Linked DNA regions of Homo sapiens: all the other regions are linked to region 2. Evidence: promoter capture Hi-C in 16 types of primary human blood cells and fetal thymus (Javierre and others, 2016). All regions are on one chromosome and are shown on one strand. The core of a region is centred on a gene start or on the middle of the fragment in contact, and the rest is flanking DNA. Distances in the headings are between cores, read along the strand shown.

Region 1 (3,458 bases), core at 34-2,533, 550 kb before region 2:
AACCACATTAAAGTCAAGGAAATAAAATAATTTGACCAGAGGATAAAGGACATGAGAGAGTATTTTAAAACTAAAGAAAAAATTAGCTGCCAGAAGCAACTGAGGACCTTTTTTGAAACTTGAGTAGCAGTGTAATTGAGCTGAGTTTGAAAGTCCTGATTCAGAGAGAGACTGAGGGTTGACAAATAAACTGTATCAACTAAACTTTGATATAAACCAGAATGTGCTAAATGTTTTTTATGTAAAATTGTATATTTGTTAGCCATTCTGTGTCTGCAGTATTGTCATAAAATTGTCCTTTCATTCTTTTGAAGATATTACAAAACAAAAATAGTTTTTTTTAAATTGTTTTAAACTAAGATACTCAATGATATAAAAACATCCTGATCTGATTTTACGAGAAAAAGAAGGGGAATGGTGGGGAATGGTGTGTACCGATATATAGTATTTCTTTAGACAACTTGCAGATAATTTCTTTATTGAAACTATCAGGAAGTTTTACTATGAAATTTTACATACATGATGGAAAGTGGAAGACATATACCAATTATATTCCAGGAAAAAATACTTTAATAGTATTGTTATATAGTGTATTGGCTAATTCCAGTGGATCCTCATCTCTCACTGCTGACATTATCTCCAATATTTGACTAAAACAAAACAAAAACAAAAATGGTTAAATCTCCAAGTATACATTTAGTTCTAAAGCTATATAATATTTTTCCACACAAAGGAAAATATTGGCACACCTTTAATATAATAAAGCTTAACAGTTATTAAGTTTTTCAGCAATATCAATAGAAAAACTTACTGCCAGTAACTGGAAACAGATTTATGGACTGTCTTGCATATAACTAGAGCTAAGAACCAGGTTCAAGTAAATTATTAAAGCAGCCATCTGTATTATGTTCACCAATTATAGCATTAACTGAGTGGAAATGAAGAGTCCTTTTCAATTGTGAGTCATAGCATGTTCATTAGTGGGTCATGATGAGCATTTTAAACATTGACAAGTACATTGTACTCAATAAGGGTAAGTACTGTTCCATTTTTTGTTAGGTTTTATTATGTATGTGTGTCCTAAGTCACAACGTAATTTGTACTGTGGGACAGCAGCCACAGTTGGAAATCTACTGCTAGAGAACTAGTCCTTGAGAGACAGCAAATGAAGGTATTAGGTTGCTGCAAAAGTAATATTTACTTGGAAAAATGTGTGGTTATTGAGGGCGAGGGCTTTCTGTACCTCTACCCTTGCGAGAGAAATAAGCCCAGGTGTCCATCCTTCAGTTTCTTTCTTTCTCTGTCTCTCTCTTCCTTCCCTTCCCTCCCTTCCTTTCCTTTCTTTTTCTTTCCTTTCTTTTTTTTTTCTTTTTTCTTTCTTTTTTGAGACGGCGTCTTACTCTGTTGCTCAGGCTGGAGTGCAGTGGCACGATCTCGGCTCACTGCAACCTCTGCCGCCTGGGTTCAAGTGATTCTCCTGCCTCAGCCTCCTGAGTAGCTGGGATTACAGGCACCTGCCATCACACCCAGCTAATTTTTGTATTTTTAGTAGAGACGGGGTTTCACTATGTTGGCTGGCCGTGGTCTTGAACTCCTGACCTTGTGATCCACCCCACCTGGGCCTCCCAAAGTGCTGGGATTACAGGTGTGAGCCACCGCGCCTGGCCGCATCTTTCAGTTTCTGTGCTTACAGTAATGATGATCCGTAGTGTCTCCATACTTATTATATATAAGTGGAAGATTTTTAATACATGAATTAGAAAGTTCCAAAGTCCAAATTGAACATTTAAATATTCTTTGCCTAAGCTTTTTGTTCCCTTAGTATCTTAAATGTTAACACCTAAAGGAATTAAGGATGGAGATCTAAGATTAATGGGAATTTAAAAAATTGTTTTGTAATGTGACACAAAAGCCTTGCTTGATGTTTATACTAAGCAAACACTACACTAAAATTTTATCTGACAGTCAAGATACACTAAAAGCAAATCTATTAACATTTAAATTAAGACAGTGAAAATCCATTTTTCTTAGGAAACTACTGAATGTCCCTCTGTATGCACTTCTCAGAATTGGAACTCTTGATTAATGCTGCTGATGACACAGTTTTGAAGGTCACAGCAGCTTTGCTAAGATTATATTGCATAGCAAATTCATTTTATTGAAATCGCTTATAAGAAATCTATTGGGCTGGGCCCAGTGGCTCATGCCTGTAATCACAGCACTTTGGGAGGCTGAGGCAGGCAGATTGAACTCAAGAGTTCGAGACCAGTGTGGGCAATATGGTGAAACCCTATTTCTAGTAAAACAAAAAAAATTAGCCAGGCATGGTGGTGGACGCCTGTAGTCCCAGCTACTCGGGAGGCTGAGGCAGGAGAATTGCTTGAACCTGGGAGGTGGAGGTTGCAGTGAGCTGAGATTGTGCCACTGCGCTCCAGCCTGGGCAACAGAGCGAGACTCTCTCTCCAAAAAAAAGAAAAAAGAAAAAAAAATCTATTGGAGCTTAGGACATCCTATTTTACTGTTTGATAATGCAGTTTATGGAAATCTTTCTTCGAATAACCCTTCTGTAGCCAAGCCATGCTATTTCCATACATCTTCAGTGGTCAAAGCTGCAGTTATTCCAAAATGAATATAAAGTTGTTTAATGTCCCTGAGAATTTAGTGGCTTTTGTTTAATGTGGCACTTTTACAGTAAGCACAGGTTTTTGTTTTTTTTTTTTGAGAGAGTCTTACACTGTGGCCCAAGCTGGAGTGCAGTGGTGTGATCTTGGCTCACTGTGTGTGATCACACAGTGGTGTGATCTTGGCTCACTACAACCTCTGCCTCTCAGATTCAAGTGATTCTCCTGCCTCAGCCTCCCAAGTAGCTGGGATTACAGGCGCCCACCACCATGCCCGGCTATTTTTTTGTATTTTTAGTAGAGACAGGGTTTCTCCACGTTGGCCAGGCTGGTTTTGAACTCCTGACCTCAACTGATCTGCCTGCCTCGGCCTCCCAAAATGGTAGGATTACAGGTGTGAGCCACTGTGCCCAGCCAGGCAAAGGTTTTTAAAGTCTTGCAAGATCTACATGATTCCTACCCTATCTCCTTTCCAGCCCTTCCCCATACTGATACAAGTTATAGCTTTAAAAAAAATAATTGCCACTCTCCTGCTTAAAATCCTTTGGGTAGTGATAAAATCTAAGCAAAATGCTGGCATATAAGAGCCCTCACAATCTGGGCTCACTCTACCTTCCCAGACTTGACTTCTGCTTACACTGTGCATCCTACTTTCTGCCACACTTGTTCCTCTGGATTAGCCAGGCCCTTCTGCAGTCTGCCTTTGCTTAAGGTGTTTGTTTGTCTTTCTCTGGCCTAACTCCCAGTCATGGGTAAACAACTGAAATGTCACCTTGGTATAACTCTCTCCTGTTTCCCCTCAAAGCAGACAGTTGATGTGCCCTATGGTCCTGGTCA
Region 2 (3,719 bases), core at 506-3,005:
ATAGTGGGCTTCAATGTCTGCTAGGAGAGCCCTAAAGGAAGAAAAACCCTGGAGATAAACATTAGTGAGTAAATGAATTTATACAAGAGTTAATATAGGGCAGTGATGTAATCTTTTCAAGCCTCAGTTTCCTCATCTGTAAAATGAGAGCTTGATCTCGCTAATTCTCAACCATGCCTGTGATTGGTTTTAAGTGGAAAATTTGACCTAGAATTACTTCATCTTTTGGAATCAACCTCAATCAAATGCATTCACCATTCAAATTTTCATGTATTGACTGAACTGTTCTTAATACCTGCTTTGTCAAAAGCACTGACTTGGTGAGTGAGAAGCACAGATTATTTATCTGTAAGTAGGCAGCCTCAAATGACAGCAGGTTGCTGGTGAGGCGGAGGATATGAGTTCCCTCTAGGACAGGCCTCCATAACCACTCTTGGTAATCAACACACTTCCAACTGCCCTCTGGATGATGAGTGATCAGCCCTGTAAAAAGCCAGTTGCGGATTTTGGTAATAATTGCTTTCTAAAATCTGTGCAAGTATCTAGCAGTGTCTGGTGTGTCTCTCACTCGCTCTCTCTAATGAATTCATTTGTTCAGCAGACATGTATTGAATCATGTGATCAGTACCTGTCTGCTGAATACACGAATCCATTAGAGAGAGTGAGTGAGAGACAGAGATAAACGGAGGGACAATACTGAGGAAAGAGGCTCCGAAGACAGATTTGATTATCCGTGGCAAGGAAGCCTGTAAATTCAGACCTTCCACCCAAAAATAACTTAAAAGAGTAAGAACTGAAGAAACTGGGGTGCGTAGATAATAAACAATCCAAGCCCACGGATGGCTGTTTCAAACCCTGGCACTTACTTATTGAGATTCTCCAGAGCAGCTGCCAGATGTTTAGAATCAAACCGACAAGAATAATTTAATTCATTGGCAATCTGTTGTCTCAGAATCTGCATCTGCCCAACCTGTGCACAAGCAAGAGAAAGAACAGGTAGTGCATTCAAGCATTTCAGAGTGACAGTGAGGAGGTAAACACAAAGATGACAATTCTTCACTGGGCCTTCACATCACTCTACAGGAAAAAAAATAAGGATTTCCTGAACTGATCTCTTGGCTAAGACCAGCACTGGATCTAATGAAGCACCAGAGGCCCTTCAAGGAATGTCTGGATGGATTCCCATACCCCAACCTAAAAATACCCCAAAGTCTATGATTCACAAAGTGATCTATTAATGTTCAGTTGTTCATGTATCAAAGATGTCTTTTTTGAAGCTATATTTTTAACCTTTTGGAATAAGTGCTCCAAATTTAGTAGCTGCTGTGAGAAGTCTTACTTACTTCCTTTTATTTATCCTAAATGGAACTTTCTCAAGCTCTAGGAATGCCATTTCACACTAGTATTCTCAAATTGGGTGAATATTAAGTCTGTCCATGCCACTCAGGATTATAGGTTCTATAATTATCTGGATTACAAAATAATCTACATAAAATCTTTCACGAAAATTTTAACAATGATAGCCCCTTAATCCAGGGTTCTTAATTTTTTTTGTGTGTCTGATATGGTTTGGCTGTGCCCCCACCCAAATTTCATCTTGAATTGTAGTTCCCATAATCCCCATGTGTCATGGGAGGGACCCAGTGGGAGGTAATTGAATTATGGGGGTGGTTACCTCCATACTGTTCTCGTAATAGTGGATGAGTTCTCACGAGATCTGATGGTTTTATAAGAGGCTTTTCTCCTTTTGATTATATTTCTCTTTCCTGTTGCCATGTGAAGAAGGACATGTTTGCTTCCACTTCCACCATGGTTGTAAGTTTCCTGAGGCCTCCACAGCCATGCTGAACTGTGAGTCAATCGAACCTCTTTCCTTTATAAATTACCCAGTCTTGAGTATGTCTTTATTATGTGAGAATTGACTAATATAGCCTTGGACCCCTTTGGGAATCTGGTGAAGCCTATGGACACCATTTCAGAATAACGTTTTTGAATGTACAAAATAAAACATAGAGGGTAACAGTGGAAGCCAGTTGTAATGAAATATAATTAACCATTCAAAGAACAAATCTGTGATATAGAGTTATGCTAGGATGGTGTATTAACTACAGTACTTTAAAAGTAGCTATGAGCATAAATGATACTTGGAGATTATCTGCAATGGTTGGATGATAGGAAGCGATCTTTGGGTCAGGCTTGAGAGTTCAGTTTGCCCTCATAATGTTGTCTGCATCATAAGGTCAACAGCACACTCTAACTTTTTCTGCCTATAAATGTCTTCTTTTCTACTCGGACAAAGTATTCCTAAAAGACTGGCAAAGGGGAGTGAGGGAGGTGGGGAGAGGAGGGAAGACAGTATTATAATGCAAGCAGCAATAAGGTGGAAATAAATGCATTTCCTCTGAGTTGCTGGGGGCAGAGAAGAGTTAAGGAAAAGACAGGGGCTCACGCCTGCAATCCCAGCACTTTGGGAGGCCGAGGCAGGCTGATCGCTTGAGGCTAGGAGTTCGAGACCAAGCCTGGCCAAAATGGTAAAACTCTGTTTCTACTAAAAATAAAAAAATTAGCTGGGTATGGTGGTGGACACCTGTAATCCCAGATACTTGGAAGGCTGAGGTATGAGAAACACTTGAACCCAGGAGGTAGAGGTTGCAGTGAGCCAAGATTGTGCCACTGCACTCCAGCCCAGGCGACAGAGTGAGACTGTCTCAAAAAAAAAAGAAAAGGAGGGTGGCCTTCTCTAAGAATGAGCAAAAGTTACTTAGCTAAATGGAGCTTGTAATGGTCAAAAGTATTAAATGACCTCAGATGTATTATTTTTGACCACTATTCATACAAGACTATTACTCTATTTATGTGAAAAACGTCAATCCAAAAATGCTATTTATAAATAGGAAGTGTTTGAATTTATAGAGTAGCATTATTTAAAAATTAGAATGCAGCAAATCCAAGAAAATAGTAGGTTCTTTCAGGCCACATAAAAATGTCCCTGAAACCCTGTATCTGGCCCATATAATTCTTTGCTTAATTTTCTATGTGTAGTATACTCTGTGTCAAGGATCCTCTTGAAAATATCAATCTAGAACTGGAAATAGAAATAAAGTCAGTTTAATATAACTTGCTCTCGTTTACTGCACAATGAATCTTTGTTAGTGACATTTTCTATTTTTGGTACTCACGCACTTCAAGCTTTAATAAGCTGCTGAAGAGGCTAAGGAGCCTGGGATGGATGAGAAACTTATTCTACCTACTCATTTGCCTCTTTGGAGATATCTGGCTTATCACTCTTTCTCCAAGATTTTTCTAGAGTTGCACTATTGAGTACAGCAGCTCCTAGCGATGTGTGGCTATTTATATTTAAATTAATATGAAATAAAATTAAAAATTGCATTTCACTGTCCCACAACCCACATTTCATGAGCTCAATAGCTACACAGGGCTAGGAGCTGCTGTCATCATCGAATAGCACAGAACATTTCCATTGTTGTTCCAGATTATTAACACTGGCTCCGTGACTGTACGCACCCTAATTCAAGACAAAAAGACAAATTTGTCCTTTGGGGCTTTATTTAAAGATCACTGACTCGGTCACAGTCACGTGGCTGTTACTGAATTACTGGCAACTATAACCAATAGTTGGAATAGCTACTGGACTGAGAACCCTCCAGTAAGCAAGGGGAAAACCTTCCAGTTTCTTGGAAGAATCCCTGTAATCCCCC
Region 3 (3,799 bases), core at 1,001-3,500, 610 kb after region 2:
ATCATACATGTTGTAAAATGTGAAAAAATCAACAAAGTTTGGGTAACTTTTCCTTAGAATGCATTTCTTCCCAGGAGGCTTAATGACTTATGCAAATAGATTCTTATAGGTCCACCCTATAGGTCTTCCAGGCAAACTTTAAGGGATTTGAAAACTAGGATAAATACAGTTTAAACTGTCCTCCAACAGAAGTACACAGTTGCATATGAAAAAACATGGCACATCTTCCTAAGCTTTGTTTCCATTTGAAGACATGAAGAGTTAAACTATCTGACCAGTAAATATTAAATAAATTCTTATATAAAAACATGTTGGGATACATTATAGAATAAATGCAAATGCAAATGTCACAAGAATTTCTAAGGTAAAAATATGTGACTGCAAAGAAATTGTATAGTTGGTGGTGGTGAGCTGTATTTGTGCCTTCTAGTGGTGGAATGGGAGGGTATGAGATGAGGGTATTCTGGCAGAGAATGTGACAGTTGCTAAAGTTAAGGCAGAGACTCTTATTGTGGCACCTACTTCAAGGTGGCCTCTATGATCCTTACCTCCCGGTGTTCATGCTGTTGTATAATCTCCTTCTGTCGATTGCCTGAGGAACTGTGACTTGCTCCTAGCCCACAGAATATGGCAAGGGGGATGGAATGTCACTCTTGTGATTGAGTTATGTTATATCAGATTCTGTATCAGAGACTCTCCTTGTGGGCTGGATGAAACAAGCAACCATGTTGGGGAGGCCTGCATGATGGGGAACTGTGGGGGCCTCTAGGACCTGAGGACGGCTTCTAGCCAACAGTCAGAAAAAAGCCAGGACCCTCACTAAGAGAGCCACAAGGAAATGAATTCTGCCAACAACCTGAATGAGCTTGGAAGTTGATTTTTCCCCAGTTAAGTTTCCAGATGAGGATGCAGCCTGCCCGATACTTGAGCCATAGCCAGATGAGACCCTAATTGGAAAACCCACTTAAGCCATGCGAAACTCCTAACCCGCAGAAATTGTGAGAAAATAAATGACTGTTGTTTTAAACTTCTACGTTTGTGGCAATGTGTTACACGGCAATAGAAAAAAAAAAAAATCGAAAACCAAAAAGAAAATACATCCACTATAAGGCACATGTGAAAATTTAAAAAACACTCAAGATACAGCACATTAGGTGAAATAATTTTGTTTAAAAATTGTCTTTGGGCTGGGCGTGGTGGCTCATGTCTGTAATCCTAGCACTTTGGGAGGCTGAGGCGGGCAGATCACCTGAGGTCAGGAGTTCGAAACCAACCTGGCCAACATGATGAAACCCATCTCTACTAAAAATACAAAAAAATTAGCCAGACGTGGTGGCAGGTGCCTGTAGTCTCAGCTACTTAGGAGGCTGAGACAGGAGAATCACTTGAACCTGGGAGGTGGAGGTTGCAGTGACCAAAGATTGCGCTGCTGCACTCCAGCCTGGGCAACAATGAGACTCCGTCTAAAACAACAACAACAACAACAGCAACAACCAAAACAACAAAACTGTTTTTATAGATTCCAAATACTTACACATTTTTCAGGACAAAACTCCCAAAGTTAAATTTAAAAAGTCTTAGTGGAAAATAGGCTTACTGGAGCCCTCTTAGCCAGTGTTTTAAACATGTAACATCTGCAGAGCTAAGTAAAGGGCACCCTTTTTGATGGAGATGAGGTGTACATCTAGGATGAGAAGGACACTCATTGAATAAGTTATTGAGAACATGCCTTGCCTCAGGTAAGCAAATATTTTCTGAGGATCATGCAGGAAAAAAATTACAGAGTACTCTGATCTATTTTTTGCCTTTAAGTTTGGGAGCTGGAAGGAAAAGGATCAAAGAGTATAGTAGTAAGTTGACATTGAATGAACCAATGAACAGCTCCATCTTGGCCCTGAGGAGTCTAATTAATTGGTTTTGGAGAGCTTCACACTAGCTGGCTATGGGCTCTTGTAGGACTCACTTCATATTTATGGCTGGGGATAATATGAGGTGAGTGAGGCACTAACTTTGGGTGCTAAATTTAAGGGATGCTGAAAACCTCAGTAATCAAGATAAATTAAATTTTAAAGCAATGATTTAAAATTCAAAATCACTGCCAAAAGATGATGAACAAATTGTCAAACTTTTAAATAAAGACTGGCTCTAGCCTTGGATTTGTACAACCTGACTTCATTGGTCTCATCGTAATCCTGGCCCCTAACAGGCAATAAAGCCCTTGGAAAACCCAGGAATAAGGTGGAAGTCTTCAATACCTGGGAGATTATGGGAACGCAGGAGTTTGGGGTGTGATTGGAAAAAGTCCTGGAAGATTTCAGTGGTAGTTGTTCTGTTGAGAGAGAGCACTACGCTCTGTTGAGAGAGAGCACTACAAGCAAGAGGTTTCATGCTTGTCAGTTTTGTTCCATATTGTATTTCAGTGCCAATGTCTATTTAATATAGTTGTATTAGTTAAATTATTTATGCCGTTTTTAAAGAAAGGCTATTTTTATTGAATTATTTTTATTTTTATTTTTTTGGTTTGGGCTTTCCCAAAAGCAGATCCCAGACAAGGACTTGGGTGCCAGCAGTTAATTTGGAGGTGATACTAGGAGGCTCTGGTAGGGGAGTGAGGAAGGGAGTCAAGGAAGGCAGGAGGCCGCCAGTAAAGGGTGCATGACTGAGTAGCTGCTGCTGCACTCATCTGAGACTCAACTGTGCTGAGAACTCCATTGAGAAACAGAATGGGACATATCTCAGAATTGTCCACTTGGGGCTGAGGCCACTAGGGCATTTATCTACTAATGCTTGTCCTTTATTAGTTGGAAGCATTATCTCCCTGGTCTGCCCTGAGAGAGGGCCAAGTGCATTCCTGTGGCAGATAAAGACCACAGTCCAAGAGATGTAGGAACTTAGAGTAAGAAGGTGGAGGAGTATACAGGAGCTGTCACCCAACTGCAGGTGACCTGTGGGATGTGCTAATGGGATGAGCACAGAACAGTGATGTGCATGTAGTGCAGCCATAATATTCAAAAAGAATAACAGCCTATAATAGGACATGCCTCTTCAAGCACATTGGATGACCAGGGCTCATTTGGAGGGATGGTCTTCCAGGTCAGGAGACACTGTGCAACTCAAGGATGCTGTTGGAGTCACAACCAAAGAAGTATATGTCATCTTGCAACTGGGAACTAGCCTTTGGCCTTTCTTTGTTGGCTACCTTTAGTTGGTTGGATGCTGGACCTGTTGATGACCAGACAGCAGTGACAAGACTAAGAAGGCCCAAGGCAGGGCTCCAGAGGAGATTCTGAAGCCATCACAAGCTAGACCCATCTCTGAGACTCTTAGAGTCTTCCTATAACAAGTATCCTTTGCACTAAGGGTAATTACCTCCTCTGTAAAACATGGCAGGTGGTTGAGATTAAGAGTAAAAATAAATTTCCTTGGCCTGGAAGGGAGGGAACTGGTTAAATATTAAGATTTGACTTAATTCCTTAGTAGCCAGACTGTGAACAGAAAGAAAACATAGAATTACATTTTGTACTTGGGTCACTTGTATAATCAGTGTGATTAATAATTGCTAATGTTTTTTATTGATGACTACATGTTAGGCACTGTACCATATACTTTACATTCCAGACCTCACTGAATCCTTCCAACAACACAGTAAGAGAGGTAGCCTACATATTTCCAATTCACATATGTGGGATCTGAGACTCAGAGAGGTTAAGTAACTTGCAAATGTCCTGGGAATAGTGAGGGGTAGAACAGCCATTTGAAGCCAGGCACAACTCTACGAACCTGGGGAAAAGTTCCATAA
Region 4 (3,603 bases), core at 453-2,952, 570 kb before region 2:
TGTCCCAATATCAAGTAAAGTGGACAACTTCCAAAACAGCAGGGTAAACATCTCCAAATACTGGCTTCTCTATAAAAGCAATGAGAACACAGGCAAAAATGGTCAGTCAACTTTTTCAGAACTCTAGAAAGTAACTAAAAGCTTGAAATAATCTGAGGTGCCTCTATTTGAGAAAAACAGCTAAATCTTGGTAAACAGGGAAGCATTTTAACTTGCCTTATTCCCAGCCCCCACCTCTTAATACAATGATAAATAGTAATGGTGACAGTGAGCAACCTTCTTACTCTTAACTTTAGGGAGAATGCTTCCAGCATGTTTCACCATTAAGTGATATGCTGTCCTTTGTTAAGCAGTATCCAGAGTCCTATTATATTGTTGGCTTATCATGTTTCCCACTGCACTCTAGTGTCACTTTTCTAATGAATCAAGTGACCCTATATGTGTGGAGTTTTTCTAGACTTTCTGTTCTGTTCTGTTCCATGGGTCAGTTTTTCTATCCATGCACCAATACTATCTCGTCTTCATTACTATAGCTTAGAATAGGTCCTGATGTCTCACAGTATAAATCCTTCAACTTTGTTTTTTAAGACTGCCTTAGGTATTCTTGACCTTTTCCAGTTTCTTAGGAATTTTAAAATTGGCTTTTTGATTTTTGGAAAAAAGAACCTGCTGAGATTTTTTTTTAATTGAGATTACATAGAATATATAGGTCAACATCTTTACAATACTGAATCTTCCATCTTGAAGTTTTATTATATCCAGTTGGGTGTAACTGTGAAATGAGAAGCAATTATCAGAAACCCGGATTACAGGATCCCACCTAAGGTGAAAGGTCCTATACTTCCCATCAGTGGGATACTATAGCCATCTTCTCTGGGCTCTCTGCTTTGACAGATGTTTTCAACTTAAGTATTACCTGTATTCTTCCTCTCAGCAGTATCTCAGTCCTCAGATTATGCTTGACCGTCACCGAAGATGAACATATTTTATCATTCACTCATATTCTAATGTAAATTAAGTCCTACTTATTTCATACAATAATTCGAACTAATATCTTCACAGCACTCCTGAGTCATAAATGGAGTCACTGCAAAGTGCTGTGCACTGCAAAGTGCTGTGTGTAGTAACAGGGGTTCCAATGAGTGTATCTCCTACAATTGGTTTACTACATGCTATACTAGGTATTTAAGATGTATTGCTTTAATTCTTGTAAAAAAGCAAGAGAACATACTTGCAGAGGATCAGATCTTAGGCTCTGGAATCAGAAAAATATGAATCAGAAACCTGGCTCTGCCACTACTATTGACTGATTAGTTCTGTGTCCTTGGACAAGTTTGGTGAGGGCTAAATTGGATAGTGCATGTCATGTATTTCATATCTTATGTGGCAATATTCTTTTCCCCAAATGATACTAAAGATTAGACAGCTTAAATACTTTGCCTCAAGACACAGAACTAGAAAGAGGCAGAAGAGGGCTAGCATACTGCCAAGCACATAGAAAGTATTCAGTAAATGTCTGCTGAATGAACAAACCACAGTCAGTATATACTCAACATTTACTTCAAATACCACTATATTCTCTGTTGTTTCCTTTAACTTATGCAACAAACTTAAAATATTTTTTATTTCCATAGGTTTTTGGGGAACAGGTAGTATTTGGTTTCACAGGTAAGTTCTTTAGTGGTGATTTGTGAGATTTTGGTCTACCCATCACCCAAGCAGTATACACTGAACCCAATTTGTAGTCTTTTATCCCTTACCCTCTTCCCACCCTTTCCCCGAGTCCCCAAATTCTATCATGTCATTCTTATGCCTTTGCATTTTCATAGCTTAGCTCCCACTTATGAGAACATATGATATTTGGTTTTCCATTCCTGAGTTACTTCACCTAGAATAATAGTCTCCTATCTCATTCAGGTCGCTGCGAATGCCATTAATTCATTCCTTTTTATGGCTGAGTAGTATTCTGTCATATATTTATACCACAGTTTCTTTATCCACTCATTGATTGATAGGCATTTGGGTTGGTTCCACATTTTTGCAATTACGAAGTGTGCTGCTATAAACATGCATGTCCAAGTATCTTTTTCATGTAATGACTTCTTTTCCTCTGGGTAGATAACCCAGTAGTGGGAATCCTGGATCAAATGGTAATTCTAGTTTTAGTTCTTTAAGGAGTCTCCACACTGTTTTCCATAGTGGTTGTACTAGTTTACATTCCCACTTCTACATACACAGCAGTGTAGAAGTAGCAAAAACAAACTCTTACTATTTATTTGGCATCTACAAAACCAGAAAATTCAAATAGAATTTTGATGGGCACATCTGAATTTACTTTAATGAGAAGAGAAAAACCATAAAGTAATTTAGGATAAGAGATCAATTGCAGTAATTCCCAGGGTCTGAGAAAAAGTTATGGCATATATTTTCACCATCAATCCTACTTGCTTTGGTTGGAATGTGTCCCCCAAATTGCATGCATTGGAAACTTAATCCCCAATATGGCAGTACTGAAAGGTGGGGCCTTTAAGAAGTGATTGGGTCATGAGGGCTGGTGATCCATTCATGGACTAATGGGTTGATAGATTAATGGGTTACTATAAGAGTGGGATTGGTGGCTTTTTTTTTTTTTTTTTTTTTTTGAGACAGACTCTTGCTCTGTTGCCCAGGCTGGAGTGCAGTGGTGTGATCTCGGCTTACTGCAACCTCTGCCTCCCTGGTTCAAGCGATTCTCCTGCCTCAGCCTCCCACCACGCCAGGCTAATTTTTTGTATTTTTAGTAGAGATGGGGTTTCACCACGTTGGCCAGGCTTGTCTCAAACTCCTGACCTTAGGTGATCCACCCACCTCGGCCTCCCAAAGTGCTGGGATTACAGGCGTGAGCCACCGTGCCTGGCCTGGGACTGGTGGCTTCATAAAAAGAGGAAGAAAGGCCTGAGTGGGCATGCTCAGCCCCCCTGATCCCTGCAGTCCCCACCAGCAACAAGATTCTCCCCAGATGTGGTCCCTCCACCTTGAAATTCTCAGCCTCCTCCCTAACTGCCAGAAATGAATTCCTTTTCTTTATAAATTACCCAGTTTCAGGCATTCTGTTATAAACCACAGAATACAGACTAGGACACTACCCTTCCTACCAGTATCCCTATCTTCCACTTGAAGAAAATACATATTAGTAGAAGTGGGGAGTGAAGGGGTTAAATCCAAGTGCATGTTTCCTACTGCCTCCTCCCACTACAGAAGCTAGGGTGCAGATACATGATCCAATAAGCTTGACCAATTGGATGGTGATGTAATTTGGATCTCCCCTGCAAATCTCATGTTGAGATGTAATTCCCAGTTAGAGGTAGGGCCTGGTGGTGTTTGGGTCATGGGGACTGATCCCTGATGGCTTGGTGTTGTCCTCACCATAGTGAGTTCTCATGAGATCTGATTGTTTAAAAGTGTGTGACACCTATCCCCACCCCCTCGCTCCTGTTTTTGCCATGTGAAGTGCCTGATCCTACTTCACCTTCCACCATGAGCAAAAGCTTCCTGAGGCCTCCCCAGAAGCAGATGCAGGCACTAGGTTTCCTGTACAGCCTGTAGAACCGTGAGCCAATTAAA
Region 5 (3,763 bases), core at 244-2,743, 600 kb after region 2:
CTATAATCCCAGCACTTTGGGAGGCTGAGGTGGGAGGATTGCTTGGGCTCAGGAGTTCGAGATCAGTCTGGGCAACATAGGAAGACCCCCATCTGAACAAAAAATTTAAAACATTAGCCAGGCATGGTGGTGCACACCTGTGGTCCCAGCTACTCAAGGAGGATGAGGTGGGAGGATCACTTGGCCCCAGGAAGTGGAGGCTGCAGTGAACCATGATCACACAACTGCACTCCAGCCAGAGTGACAGAGCAAGACCACCCACACCCTCTCTATATTTAACAGAAACTTCTCTGTTGTAAATGTAAGCCCAACTCCCTTGTGAGTAACAACAAGTTACTGTAAATATAAATATGTGATTATGAAAATAAAAAACTGTGTGCATCCTAAAGAAATGTAAGGATACAGATACATAAAGTGTTAATTACACACAGTGCAACTGGAGTAATGTGTAAAGTGCCTTGAGATCAGTATTTGCATGTGGTGTGTTGGAAAAGACACAGGCTTTGAGGCTGGACACTTGGGTTTTGATTCCAGCTCTGCCACTCACTGTGTAACCTTGGATAAGTTTCTTAACCTCTCTGAACTTTGGTTTTCCCATTTAGATAAGGGAGAATGATAACTTCATGTCCTTCCAGTGGTGTATGTACCACACTTTGGAAAGCCCTGAAAGAGCGGATGCAGTCAGTGCTTGGGGAGCATGTGCAGGTGCTGAGATCCATGTGCAGCATGTTGATGTGCATGCAGCAACTGATTTTGATTTAATCCAAGCCTTCGGGACATTTTGCAGATGAAGCAGCCACGGATTAAGGAGAGATTAAGTGACTTTCCCAAAGTCCCTAGCCAGGAAACAGTGGAAATGGGGATCAAAGTGGATCATTGGACCCCAGACCCAATATATTTGGTATGATTGACAGCATTAAGCACACGGTGGTGGCCAAGAAAGTTTTTGAATGAGGAAAGCAACTGCAGAGAGGTGGCATGCGACAGCTGAAGGAACGCCGATGAGAATGCCGACGTAAGAGTTCTAGAATGTCTGTTCGAATCAGTGGCTCTCCAATGGTGGTCATGAAGCTGCAGGTGGCTGGGCTGCAGGAACTCTCTCCCTTCCTCCTGAGGGTAGGTTGAGGGACTCATCTGATGGATGTTTAGTTTTTCCATTTTTCCTTTCTCAAGAGCAGGTCCTTCCCCCACCTTTTAAATTGTGATTTTGAGTAAGATTCCACCGGGGAGAGAAGAAAATATCTCTCTCTTCTCTCTCTCTCTCTCTCTCTCTCTATATATATATGTATACACACACACACACAAATTTATAAAAATATATATTATGTAATATATATTTATATATTATATATTTATATTATATATAAATATACAAAACATATAACTTTTTATATATATAAAAAATTTTTTTTGGTAAAAGCAGGTTCGAAGAGTTTTGTTTTAGGTGACCTTTAAGGTCTCCACTAAATCTCATTGGTTTTATAATTGGAGTGTGGGCATTTCTGCTTCATGGTTATATAGTGTTGGAGAAGTCGGTCAGCATTCTATCTTCACTCCTTCATCTGTAAAATGGGCATGAGGAGACAAACACCACTCACTTTGCAGAGTTATCATGTGAACGTGCCCTAAGAAGAGCAAAGGATTCTGCAAAAGCATGGTATTAGTGAATTGGTGTCATCATCAACTATTTCTTCCATGGCATCTCCGAGTTGCATTCTGGGAAGTGCTGGAGATATAGAGAACCACCAGACACAGAGTCTGGTGGGAAATAAAGAAGCATGGGTTGACAGTCTCCTGGGATATAGGTAAATGACCTAGCAGTTTCAATGGGGAAATGATGAGTGCCCCTAGGTAAGCATGGTGGAGGGTCACAGACCCTGCCTGGGGCTGGGGGTGACAGGGAGACAGTGGGAGTTGTAGGAAAGTGACATCTGGCATGGATATTCAAGGAGGAGCAAAAATAATAATTACATTGAGTCTATATGTATATATTTTATTCACACACAGTTTTGTGCATCCAAAATTAAGACTTGTAATCTTTCACTTCTCCTTTTGTGCAAGGATCTTATAGAGACAAAAGTAAATGCAAAGAGTATCATTGGGCCAATGTTGTGAACTTTGTTAATGACTTTTGCTCCACCCTTTTTGTCAACAAACAGAATTCAACCAACAAATGTGCTAGGGTCCGTTCTCTTGAGAAAACTTAACACACTTCCAGAACCATCAACTGTGAGAGCCTAGAGGGCCCCCTGAATATGTCCTGTCCAATATGTACACGGATAAGAAAATCTGGAACCTAGAGAGGTGAGGTGTCTTTACCAAGGCCAGTAAGTATAGGAGTCAGGTTGAGATCTGGGGGCTTATTGGGTATCACAGGCTCCAGGGACTTCAGAGTGGGAGCAGCGGTGTGTGCAGAGGCCAGGCCTAGAGGTCTGTAGTCTGAGGGCCAGGGTTGAAGTCCATCACTAATTTCATCCAACAATGGTTGCATGTGTATATGTCAGTTAATAAGCTGTAGGCTGAGGGTATAGAGAGAAATAAACCATTTTCCTTGCTTTAAGACACAGGTACATAAAGTGTTAATTACACACAGTGCAACTGGAGTAATGTGCAAAGTTCTTTGAGATCAGTATTTGCATGTGGTGTATTGGAAAAGACACAGGCTTTGAGGCCGGACACCTGGGTTTTGATTCCAGCTCTACCACTCGCTGTGTAACCTTGAACAAGTTTCTTAACCTCTCTGAACTTCCGTTTTCTTATCTAGACAAAGGAGAATGATAACCCACCTATCAGCATTGATGAATAAAGAGTAAATAAGATACCACTGGTAAAGGGCGTGGGTCAATAACCTAGGACTATCATCACCAAGTGCAAGGGCTTGGGCGAGACATTCAACCTCTTCAACCTTCTGGGAGCTTTGAATGCTCTCACCATACAATGAGGTGATGGAAGTGAAATGTGCTTCGTAAAACTGTGATACGTTGAGCAAATCACTTTTGGGATTATTAGCCGGTCCTCATTAGCATATGAAAGGCAAGGTGGCAGGGCGGTTGTCAAAGTCCAGTGGGTTCTGTGGGTCGGAAGCCAGGCCAGTCTCTCTGATTTTATGCCTCTTTCACCCACTGCCCTTTTAGCCTCCAGTCATTTCCCTTCCATCACCTGAAACCTAACTGCATTGTGGACCAGAACCTGTAGATCTTAGGCTTGGTTTCTATTAGTAAAGCCCTTCTCCTGGGAGAGGGACTTACCATCAGGCCTGAGAAAGAAGTCAGGCGTGCTTGGAATGCAATTGCAAAAGAGGTTACAAGAGCCTGTGAGAATGCCGAAATCAAGTGATGTCGAGAGGTTTTGTTATTTTTGAAAAAATGACTCATTCTGAGAAACCCTGACAGCCTCAGAACATTCACCTAGTTGCTTGCATGCATAACCCGGAGCCCACTGCAGAGGAAAACAAATCCTGTTATCACAGCTGAAGGAGGGGGTGGTGGGGGCAGTGAGGGCTGGTGGTGGGAATGGGAATAGGGATGGGGTGACCATTTAATGGAGGAAGAGTTTGAAAATGACTCTTGCTCTGCGAGTGGACTGTTTTAATTTCGCAAGTCCTTTTCTCTAAATTGTTCTATTCAAGCCATTACAGAACACATCCGCTTGGAGGCAACACATATTCTTTTTGCATTCAACTGAGCCAGCCACGGGAGATAAGATGATTCCCATTTGACCCTCAAAGGAAATGGACTCTCAGATGGCTGAAGCTATTTGTCCA
Region 6 (3,407 bases), core at 155-2,654, 530 kb before region 2:
GGCTTACAAAATTATCTGGGCCCTTTAATTTTCAGAAAGTAACACCACTGGCCCCTTGCCACTGGGAGCACCATCAGTGGGAGTCAACTCACCAAGCGAGAAGCCCAGGAGAGCTTCATACTGCATGCTAATCTATTCCATTTTGCAACCAGTTTTTTATGTGCTGTTATAAAAGAAGTTATTGCCACTGGGCAAAATGAACAAGGTTTCCCTCAAAAATGAAATCTAAGTATTTGCTAAACAGCAAATAACTCAATTATGCTATTAAAAAAAGAAAATTACATGATAAAGTGGTAGCCCTGAATATCTTAAAGAGTACTTGATAAGAAGGTTTTTCCAAGTACCAGATACCATTGTCTCATTTGATCCTCAAAATAACCTGAGTATAAAAGCTGGTGTCAGAGAGGTGTAGTACTTTGTCCAAGATAACAATACCTGGCATGGCCAACTTGGAACAGAACTTCACTGCTCTAATTCCAAGTCCCAGCCTAAACGACAAAAACCTGTTACGTTTTCAAGAAGCTTCCTTCTGGTCCCGGAGTATAATGACAATATTCAGAGGATACAACGAATGTTCATTCTGTTTGTCTTTTCACTTCAACACAGTGCTCCCCCTTGTTCTCACAAATGGTAGGTTCAACTGAATCAGGATAACAGGTGGCTTATTATTTTCTTAAATGTGCTTACCTCTTCTAAGCACTTTAATTTGGGGAAACAATTTCTCTGTTTAACTTAAGCCTCTCTTGCTATATTTTTCTATATCATATTTCCTGATGTGCAGGACTATTTTACCCCCTTTGCTCTCTTGAAAATGCTAAATTTTAAAATTAGAAATAGAAATGTACTTCTTAAGAAGCAGTCTTCAGGCCGGGCGTGGTGGCTCACACCTGTAATGCCAGCACTTTGGGAGGCCAAGGCGGGTGGATCACTCAAGGGCAGGAGTTCAAGACCAGCCTGGCCAGCATGGTGAAACCTCGTCTCTACTAAATATACAAAAATTAGCCGGCATGTTGGCACATGCCTGTAATCCCAGCTATTCGGCAGGCATGAGAATCTCTTGAACCCAGGGTCAGAGGTTGCAGTGAGCTGAGATTGTACCACTGCACTCCAGCCTGGGTGAGAGAGCAACATTCTGTCTCAAAAAAAAAAAAAAAAATTAAAAATTAAAAAAATAGAAATAGTCTTCCTAAAATAGGTCGTCTATGTCTGTATTACCAAATGTTTGGGTTTTAAAATCTCCTTTTCAGATTCTGCTGGGTTAGAATAAGCAAAAATATTTTCCTTTCATTAACAAAGTGCTGAAATTTTGCAGTGTAGGAAATATTAACGACAACTTGGACAAAAAGAGATTTTGATAATATAACCAGTCACTATTTCCATAACCTCTAAAGTAAACCAAATGTCAGCAGTTAAGTGTGCACTAGTCATTATGTCAACTTTACTAATATATTTGGCTCTGACTACACACAGCAGGCGGTACTCTTCATTGTGTGCACTGCTCCACGCTGTACTGGTTATTTTTTCCACACACAATTCCATGGACCAAACCACATGACCAAGCTACAAATTCACAGTATCTAATGGTCGGATGGAAAATTAGCTTCCTATAGGAATGTAGGCAAAAGTACAGTTTATGAAAATAACAGAGGCCAGCTGGGTGTGTGGTTCAGGCCTGTAATCCCAGCACTTTGGGAGGCTGAGGTGGGTGGATTGCTTGAGCTCAGGAGTTCGAGACCAACCTGGGCAACATGGTGAAACCCCATCTCTACAAAAAATACAAGAATTAGCCAGGTGTGGTAGCATATGCCTACAGTCTCAGTTCTTGGGAGGCTGAGGTGGGAGGATTGCTTGAGCCTGGCGAGGTCAAGGCTGCGGTGAGCCATGATCACACCACTGCACTCCAGCTTGGATGACAGAGTGAGACCCTGTCTCAAAGAAAAAAGAAAAAGAAAATAACAGAAGCCCAAGCAATGGGCCCACAGAATTTTACATAATTCAAGAAAAGAAAGGTCCCTGAAGTCATGCTAGCTACGTATCATAAAGAAGCCATGTGGTAAAAAAAATTATTCCTAATGATACAAATTGAGGATAACTAGTACTGAACATCAAACGACTATTATCTTTAGAGAAGAAAAACCCGCCATGGTAACTAGAAATAACTGTATAAGTTACAGGGTAGGAATTGGCATCTATTAAGAGACTTCTCTGCCTGTTTTACTCACTTATTATTTTTTTAAAGTTCATAAATGAAAATAATTTTCCACTTGAGTTATTTGCTCATCTTAGTGAAGCTTCTGATTTTATTACTGCTTCTTACAGTTGAGGTTTAACTATCTAACGACAAGAGCTGGAAAAGTTCAGCTTCAGGAGCAGTTGTTATTAATTAGGATCAAGGCAAATCCAAAAAGCCCAGTGAGTTTCATGGGTATACCTCAACACAAGTAGTAATCCCTCCTCTGTAAGCTGCTTGATGGCAACATGGCCTCAATTGCTCATCTCTAGGGTCCCCTAAATCCCCAAAGGATTGTTTTAAAATCTTCTTGTTGTAGTTTTTAAGACCTGCACAGTGTTAACATTTTAAAGCCCCAAGAAAAATGCCCAAAGCAAATTCCTCCTACCCAAGAGAACAGAGCTCTAAATTGCAACAAGGAAAGGAGTGTAGCATAAGGCCAGGAAATTGAAAATACAGGGTATGGCTTAAAGGATAAACTTTCCATAAGTAGATCAGGCCTTTCCTTGTTTTCACTCTTTGCTTCTCTTTCTTAGTCTTTAAAAAATACTTTTTCCAGAAAAGGTCTAGGTACTAAAACAAGAAAAAAGTATTAAAAAAAAAAACTTTTAAAAGTTCCAAACAAAAACAATAGCTAGCATCTTCCTTTAGGGTGGTAATTATTTCTAGTATGAGGAATGTAACAACAGCCATGATTGTGCACATACTCTGCATGACTCATGTCACTATGGGCTTTATGTGCCTTATGTTAAGAAAGGTAGGCAGCAATCTCCCCATTTTAAAGGGGATGCACAAAGGGATGAAGTGACACCAAAGGCAGTTGTAAATCTCACCCAAAGATCTGCTGATTCCAAAGCTCATCCTTTTAACATGGTCATACACCGCCTTCACTTACCATTATTTTTCAGACACTACATCTATTGTATATTAATTTTTCTGTCTTGCCCCCTAATTTTCTATTTTTCTTTTCTCATACATCTCCTTTTTCCTGACTACATATTTACTTAAAAACAAATCATGGCCGGGTGCAGTGGCTCATGCCTGTAACCCTAGCACTTTGGGAGGCCGTGGTGGGCGGATCACTTGAGGTCTGGAGTTCGAAACCAGCCTGGCCAACATGGTGAAACTCTGTCTCTACTAAAAATACAAAAAAATTAGCCAGGCATGCTGATGGGCA
Region 7 (3,806 bases), core at 967-3,466, 650 kb after region 2:
TGGGATTACAGGTGTGAGCCACTGCGCCTGGCCTATACCTTTTTAAGAATCCCATTCCTGATTTAGTCTTTCTTAGATGAGTCTGAAAGTCCTCTGGGAGCTAGACATGACTCCAAGGTCACAATTGTGGACATCCATTCTCACTGGGTGGCCGATAGAGGGAGAGAATGCACATGGATGGGCAGACCTGACCAAGGATGAGCTCTGAAGTTGTTCTTTGGGACAAGGTCTAGGATGCTGTTTTTTTCATCCCTATGGGGATGCAACTCCCACTTGAACATGCTTTCTACATACTATGCCACTGGGAAGTTGTCAGTACTTGCATTGCTATTTCCATTTTAGATGAGGAATCTGAAATGAAGTGCCTTGCTCAAGGCTATGGAGTGGATAAGGGAGTTACCTGGGACTACCAGGGAGTTCTCTTGACTCTGATTCCAGGTTTCATTCTCATGCTCTGTGATGCCTTTCATTAATGTAGAGGGCTGGGAGCACCTTGGCTACTCGGACACCATGGAGTAGCCAGACAACAGGTACAATCTGCCTCTTTAAGTCTGTGGATCTGTTTTAGAACCTCATAGCCTTCACTTGGGTAGAACAAGTCCGTAGGTAAAGTCTCAATAATATTCACAGTAAAAGTTTAAACAATTAATATTTTAAATTACAATAATACATGCTTATTGTTGACATTTTAGTAAATACATATATATGCATTTAAAGCACACAATTCCACCAACCAAATTATTTACATACTTTAATGCTATGTTCTTCCAGTTTTTCTTTAAGTATAAAATACTGGTATCTTTATGATTGCGTTAATTATTTTGTATCCTGAAGTTTCACTTGTTTATTATGATCTTGTTTATATAATTAAATTTTCTTAAAAATATTTTTAATGGTTTTGTAGTATTGGCGTAACATAACCTCTTTAAATCGATCCCTAATTCTGAATATTTAGATTTTATATATATATATATATATATATATATATATATATATATATTTTTTTTTTTTTTTTTTTTTTTTTTTTTTGCATTTTTCGGTAGAGACAAATTCTTACTTTATTGTCCAGGCTGGTCTCAAACTCCTGGGCTCAAGTGATCCTTCTGCCTTTGCCTCCCAAAATCCTCAATTATAGGCATGAGTCACTGTAGCCGGCCTATTTCTAATTTTTGTTAGTATAGATTACACTTTTTTTGTTGTTGTTGTTGAGATGGAGTCTTGCTCTGTTGCCCAGGCTGGAGTGCAGTGGCACCATTTCGGCTCACCACAACCTCCGCCTCCTGGGTTCAAGCGAGTCTCCTGCCTCAGTCTCCTGAGTAGCTGGGATTACAGGTGTGTGCCACCATGCCTAGCTAATTTTTGTATTTTTAGTAGAGACAGGGTTTCACTATGTTGGCCAGGCTGGTCTCAAACTCCTGACCTTGTGATCTGTCCACCTCAGCCTCCCAAAGTGCTGGGATTACAGGCGTGAGCCACTGCGCCTGGCCCTGGATTACACTTTTAAAACAATATATTTACAGATATTTTTATACAACTGTATAGGAACCTTTATATAATTTTCCTAATATTTGCTTTGAAGAGATTCCTTAACTTTTTTTTTTTTGAGTTAAAAGAAATGAACATTTCGAAGATTCTTTATACATCTCATCTTCACAACTTGTTTTAAACCTCTTCCATAGCTTCAAGCTATGGTCCTGCTTTCTGGTTCTATTCTTCATCTTACTCCCTGGATGCGATGCCTTCATGTTCTTGGCCTCCTTTCCTGACACTATCTACGCACCTGTTTGTTATTCTGGGCTATAAATTTCCCAACCAAATCTGGCTTAGCTCTAGGTCCTGCTGGAATTATCTTCACTCCTCTTGTGGGAAATTGGATGGGAAGGAGAAATTGGACTCCTTCGTGAAAATTCCCTCCACATATTCATCCAGTAAAAATGTATGAAATGCCCAGTGCCTGGCACTTCTGGAATTCTCTCCAAAGATGCCATCCTGTTCCCACACTGTCATGGGAACAATAAAGGGAACCGTGTGGCCTCCTGCCATCTGCGTGTCTCCATCCCAGGGCGAATGCTTGATTAGTGGGGTGGTACTGCAGGCCCGGATCCTCAGGAGTCATCACTTTTCTTCTTGCCACAACTCTTCTTTTGCTCAACAGTGCCTTAATGGCTCAGTCACTTAAGAGTGCAGTCACTTAATAGCCCTTTCTATCAATTTTCCCATCTGCAGAATGGGGACTGTGATTCTGGGCTGACCGGGTGTTGTGAGCATTAATGAATGTTTTGAGGCATGTTGAGATCTGTAGATAAACAAACCTCAAGAAGTACAAAGTGCTAATGAGCCTGTTGCTGAGCAGCTCGCTTTGAGAGACTGCTTTCTTTCCCACAGAGGAGGAATCAGTTCCTAATCCCTGGGCACAGATGTTTTCCAGCTGCTTTTGGATGAACCAAAACAGTGGATTCCAAAGGGAATTTTCCCTGGACACATGCAGCTCTCAGGTTAATGGAAACCTCAGAATTAAGTCTAAAGCAACACCAGAGTAACTCCCAAGTTAGTTTGCCCGGTGACAGCACCACTTGGTAGAGTTTCTTGGCACTTTCTGCAACAGTGTTTGCCTGAGTGTGGAATGTATACTACTGATGACACACAGATGCCTTTGATGGTGCGTGGATGAACTTTTAATAACTTTTCACAGTTATGCATTTTTTGGTGGTTATTTTCTATCTGTAGCAAGTGATACTATTTATTTATTTATTTATTTAATTATTTGTCACAACAAGAATAACTGACATTTGGGCTGGGTGTGGTGGCTCACGCCTGTAATCCCAGCACTTTGGGAGGCCGAGGCAGATGGATCATGAGGTCAAGAGATCGAGACCATCCTGGCCAACACGGTGAAACACTATCTCTACTAAAAATACAACAATTAGCTGGGCATGGTGGTGCACACCTGCAGTCCCAGCTATTTGGGAGGCTGAGGCAGGAGAATTGCTTGAACTCAGTAGGTGGAGGTTGCAGTGAGCCGAGATCGCGCCACTGCTCTCCAGCGTGGGTGACAGAATGAGACTCCATCTCAAAAAAAAAAAAAAAGAATATCTCACATTTACTGAGGGCTTACTTTGTCCTGGGTACTGTTGTAAGTGCTTTACAGCAAAGCATTTAATCATCACAACAGCCTTATCTTTAGATATTCTTATTATCCCCTTTGTACACATGGGGATGTTGACACACAGAAACTTTAAGGAGTCTTACAAACTGTCTAAATTTACATAGCTGGCAAACAGTGGAGATGGGGTTTCTATCAGACAATTTTGGCTCCAGGGCCCATGTTCCTGTTAAACAGCCTGTCATATTTCCTTTCAATATATTTGCATTTGTGGTACTGGTATAAAGGATATTTAAAAACAGATTATTTAAAGTTACAAAAGCATGTTGATTGGAATAAAAATGATGTATAAAATCTGAGTTAAAAATAATGAGATGGTTTGAAGATATGGTGGATATTGTGATGTTGGAATCAATGACTGAAGGGCAGTGCGCCCTAGCGGGTGGCCTGGTGACCACCGGGGCCACTATTCTCTAGAAGCTGGTTAAAAATCCAGATCTATGGGCTCTCTGTGGGTGCAGTCCAAGGATCTGTATTTATAAACAAAGGCCTCAGGGCATTTCCATATCATGAAGCTGTGACACACCTGTTTCCCAACCCCCAATCCCTATCTGGGCATAAGACAAACAACAACAACGACAACTGCTGATTGGTTGGGTGTTCCACTGGGTTATCACTCTTTTGGCCTCATGTCAGGGAAAGG

What was found. Contacts are between HindIII fragments. The CHiCAGO score rates a contact against its expected background, and 5 or more counts as called.
Region 1: a fragment that was not itself captured here is called in contact with the fragment with the promoter of WASHC5-AS1 in region 2 in 7 of 17 cell types (erythroblasts, M1 macrophages, M2 macrophages and 4 more); the score reaches 10.5 in erythroblasts.
Region 3: a contact is called between a fragment that was not itself captured here and the fragment with the promoter of WASHC5-AS1 in region 2, in 1 of 17 cell types (neutrophils). The highest score is 6.3, in neutrophils.
Region 4: a fragment that was not itself captured here is called in contact with the fragment with the promoter of WASHC5-AS1 in region 2 in 1 of 17 cell types (monocytes); the score reaches 5.7 in monocytes.
Region 5: a fragment that was not itself captured here is called in contact with the fragment with the promoter of WASHC5-AS1 in region 2 in 1 of 17 cell types (neutrophils); the score reaches 5.4 in neutrophils.
Region 6: a contact is called between a fragment that was not itself captured here and the fragment with the promoter of WASHC5-AS1 in region 2, in 10 of 17 cell types (M1 macrophages, erythroblasts, M2 macrophages and 7 more). The highest score is 15.8, in M1 macrophages.
Region 7: a fragment that was not itself captured here is called in contact with the fragment with the promoter of WASHC5-AS1 in region 2 in 1 of 17 cell types (neutrophils); the score reaches 7.9 in neutrophils.

What each region holds. Positions count from the first base shown.
Region 1 is chr8:124,488,047-124,491,504 of GRCh38, forward strand. RNF139 (ring finger protein 139) reads left to right here. Exons shown (of 2, transcript NM_007218.4): 2 at 1-572. TATDN1 (TatD DNase domain containing 1) reads right to left here. Exons shown (of 12, transcript NM_032026.4): 12 at 452-650. The coding sequence ends at 548. Among named protein-coding and RNA genes, the nearest start is that of RNF139, 15 kb to the left of the region's middle. The HindIII fragment of the contact is 1,041 bases long and covers 764-1,804 here.
Region 2 is chr8:125,038,929-125,042,647 of GRCh38, forward strand. It overlaps WASHC5-AS1 (WASHC5 antisense RNA 1), which reads left to right and starts at 1,756. Exons shown (of 2, transcript NR_170219.1): 1 at 1,756-1,851. WASHC5 (WASH complex subunit 5) reads right to left here. Exons shown (of 29, transcript NM_014846.4): 24 at 867-970; 25 at 1-31. The HindIII fragment of the contact is 6,314 bases long and covers 1-3,187 here.
Region 3 is chr8:125,651,519-125,655,317 of GRCh38, forward strand. The region is part of intron 6 of LINC02964 (long intergenic non-protein coding RNA 2964); the gene reads left to right. Among named protein-coding and RNA genes, the nearest start is that of LINC02964, 130 kb to the left of the region's middle. RefSeq lists an enhancer at 3,583-3,799. The HindIII fragment of the contact is 4,038 bases long and covers 232-3,799 here.
Region 4 is chr8:124,467,590-124,471,192 of GRCh38, forward strand. RNF139-DT (RNF139 divergent transcript) reads right to left here. Exons shown (of 2, transcript NR_108047.1): 2 at 1-69. Among named protein-coding and RNA genes, the nearest start is that of RNF139-DT, 5.2 kb to the right of the region's middle. The HindIII fragment of the contact is 3,127 bases long and covers 140-3,266 here.
Region 5 is chr8:125,634,290-125,638,052 of GRCh38, forward strand. All of the region lies in intron 5 of LINC02964 (long intergenic non-protein coding RNA 2964), which reads left to right. Among named protein-coding and RNA genes, the nearest start is that of LINC02964, 120 kb to the left of the region's middle. RefSeq lists an enhancer at 2,470-2,579. The HindIII fragment of the contact is 7,632 bases long and covers 1-3,763 here.
Region 6 is chr8:124,508,892-124,512,298 of GRCh38, forward strand. The region is part of intron 6 of TATDN1 (TatD DNase domain containing 1); the gene reads right to left. Among named protein-coding and RNA genes, the nearest start is that of MIR6844, 2.0 kb to the left of the region's middle. The HindIII fragment of the contact is 1,769 bases long and covers 521-2,289 here.
Region 7 is chr8:125,689,457-125,693,262 of GRCh38, forward strand. No RefSeq gene overlaps it. Among named protein-coding and RNA genes, the nearest start is that of LINC02964, 170 kb to the left of the region's middle. The HindIII fragment of the contact is 6,595 bases long and covers 1-3,806 here.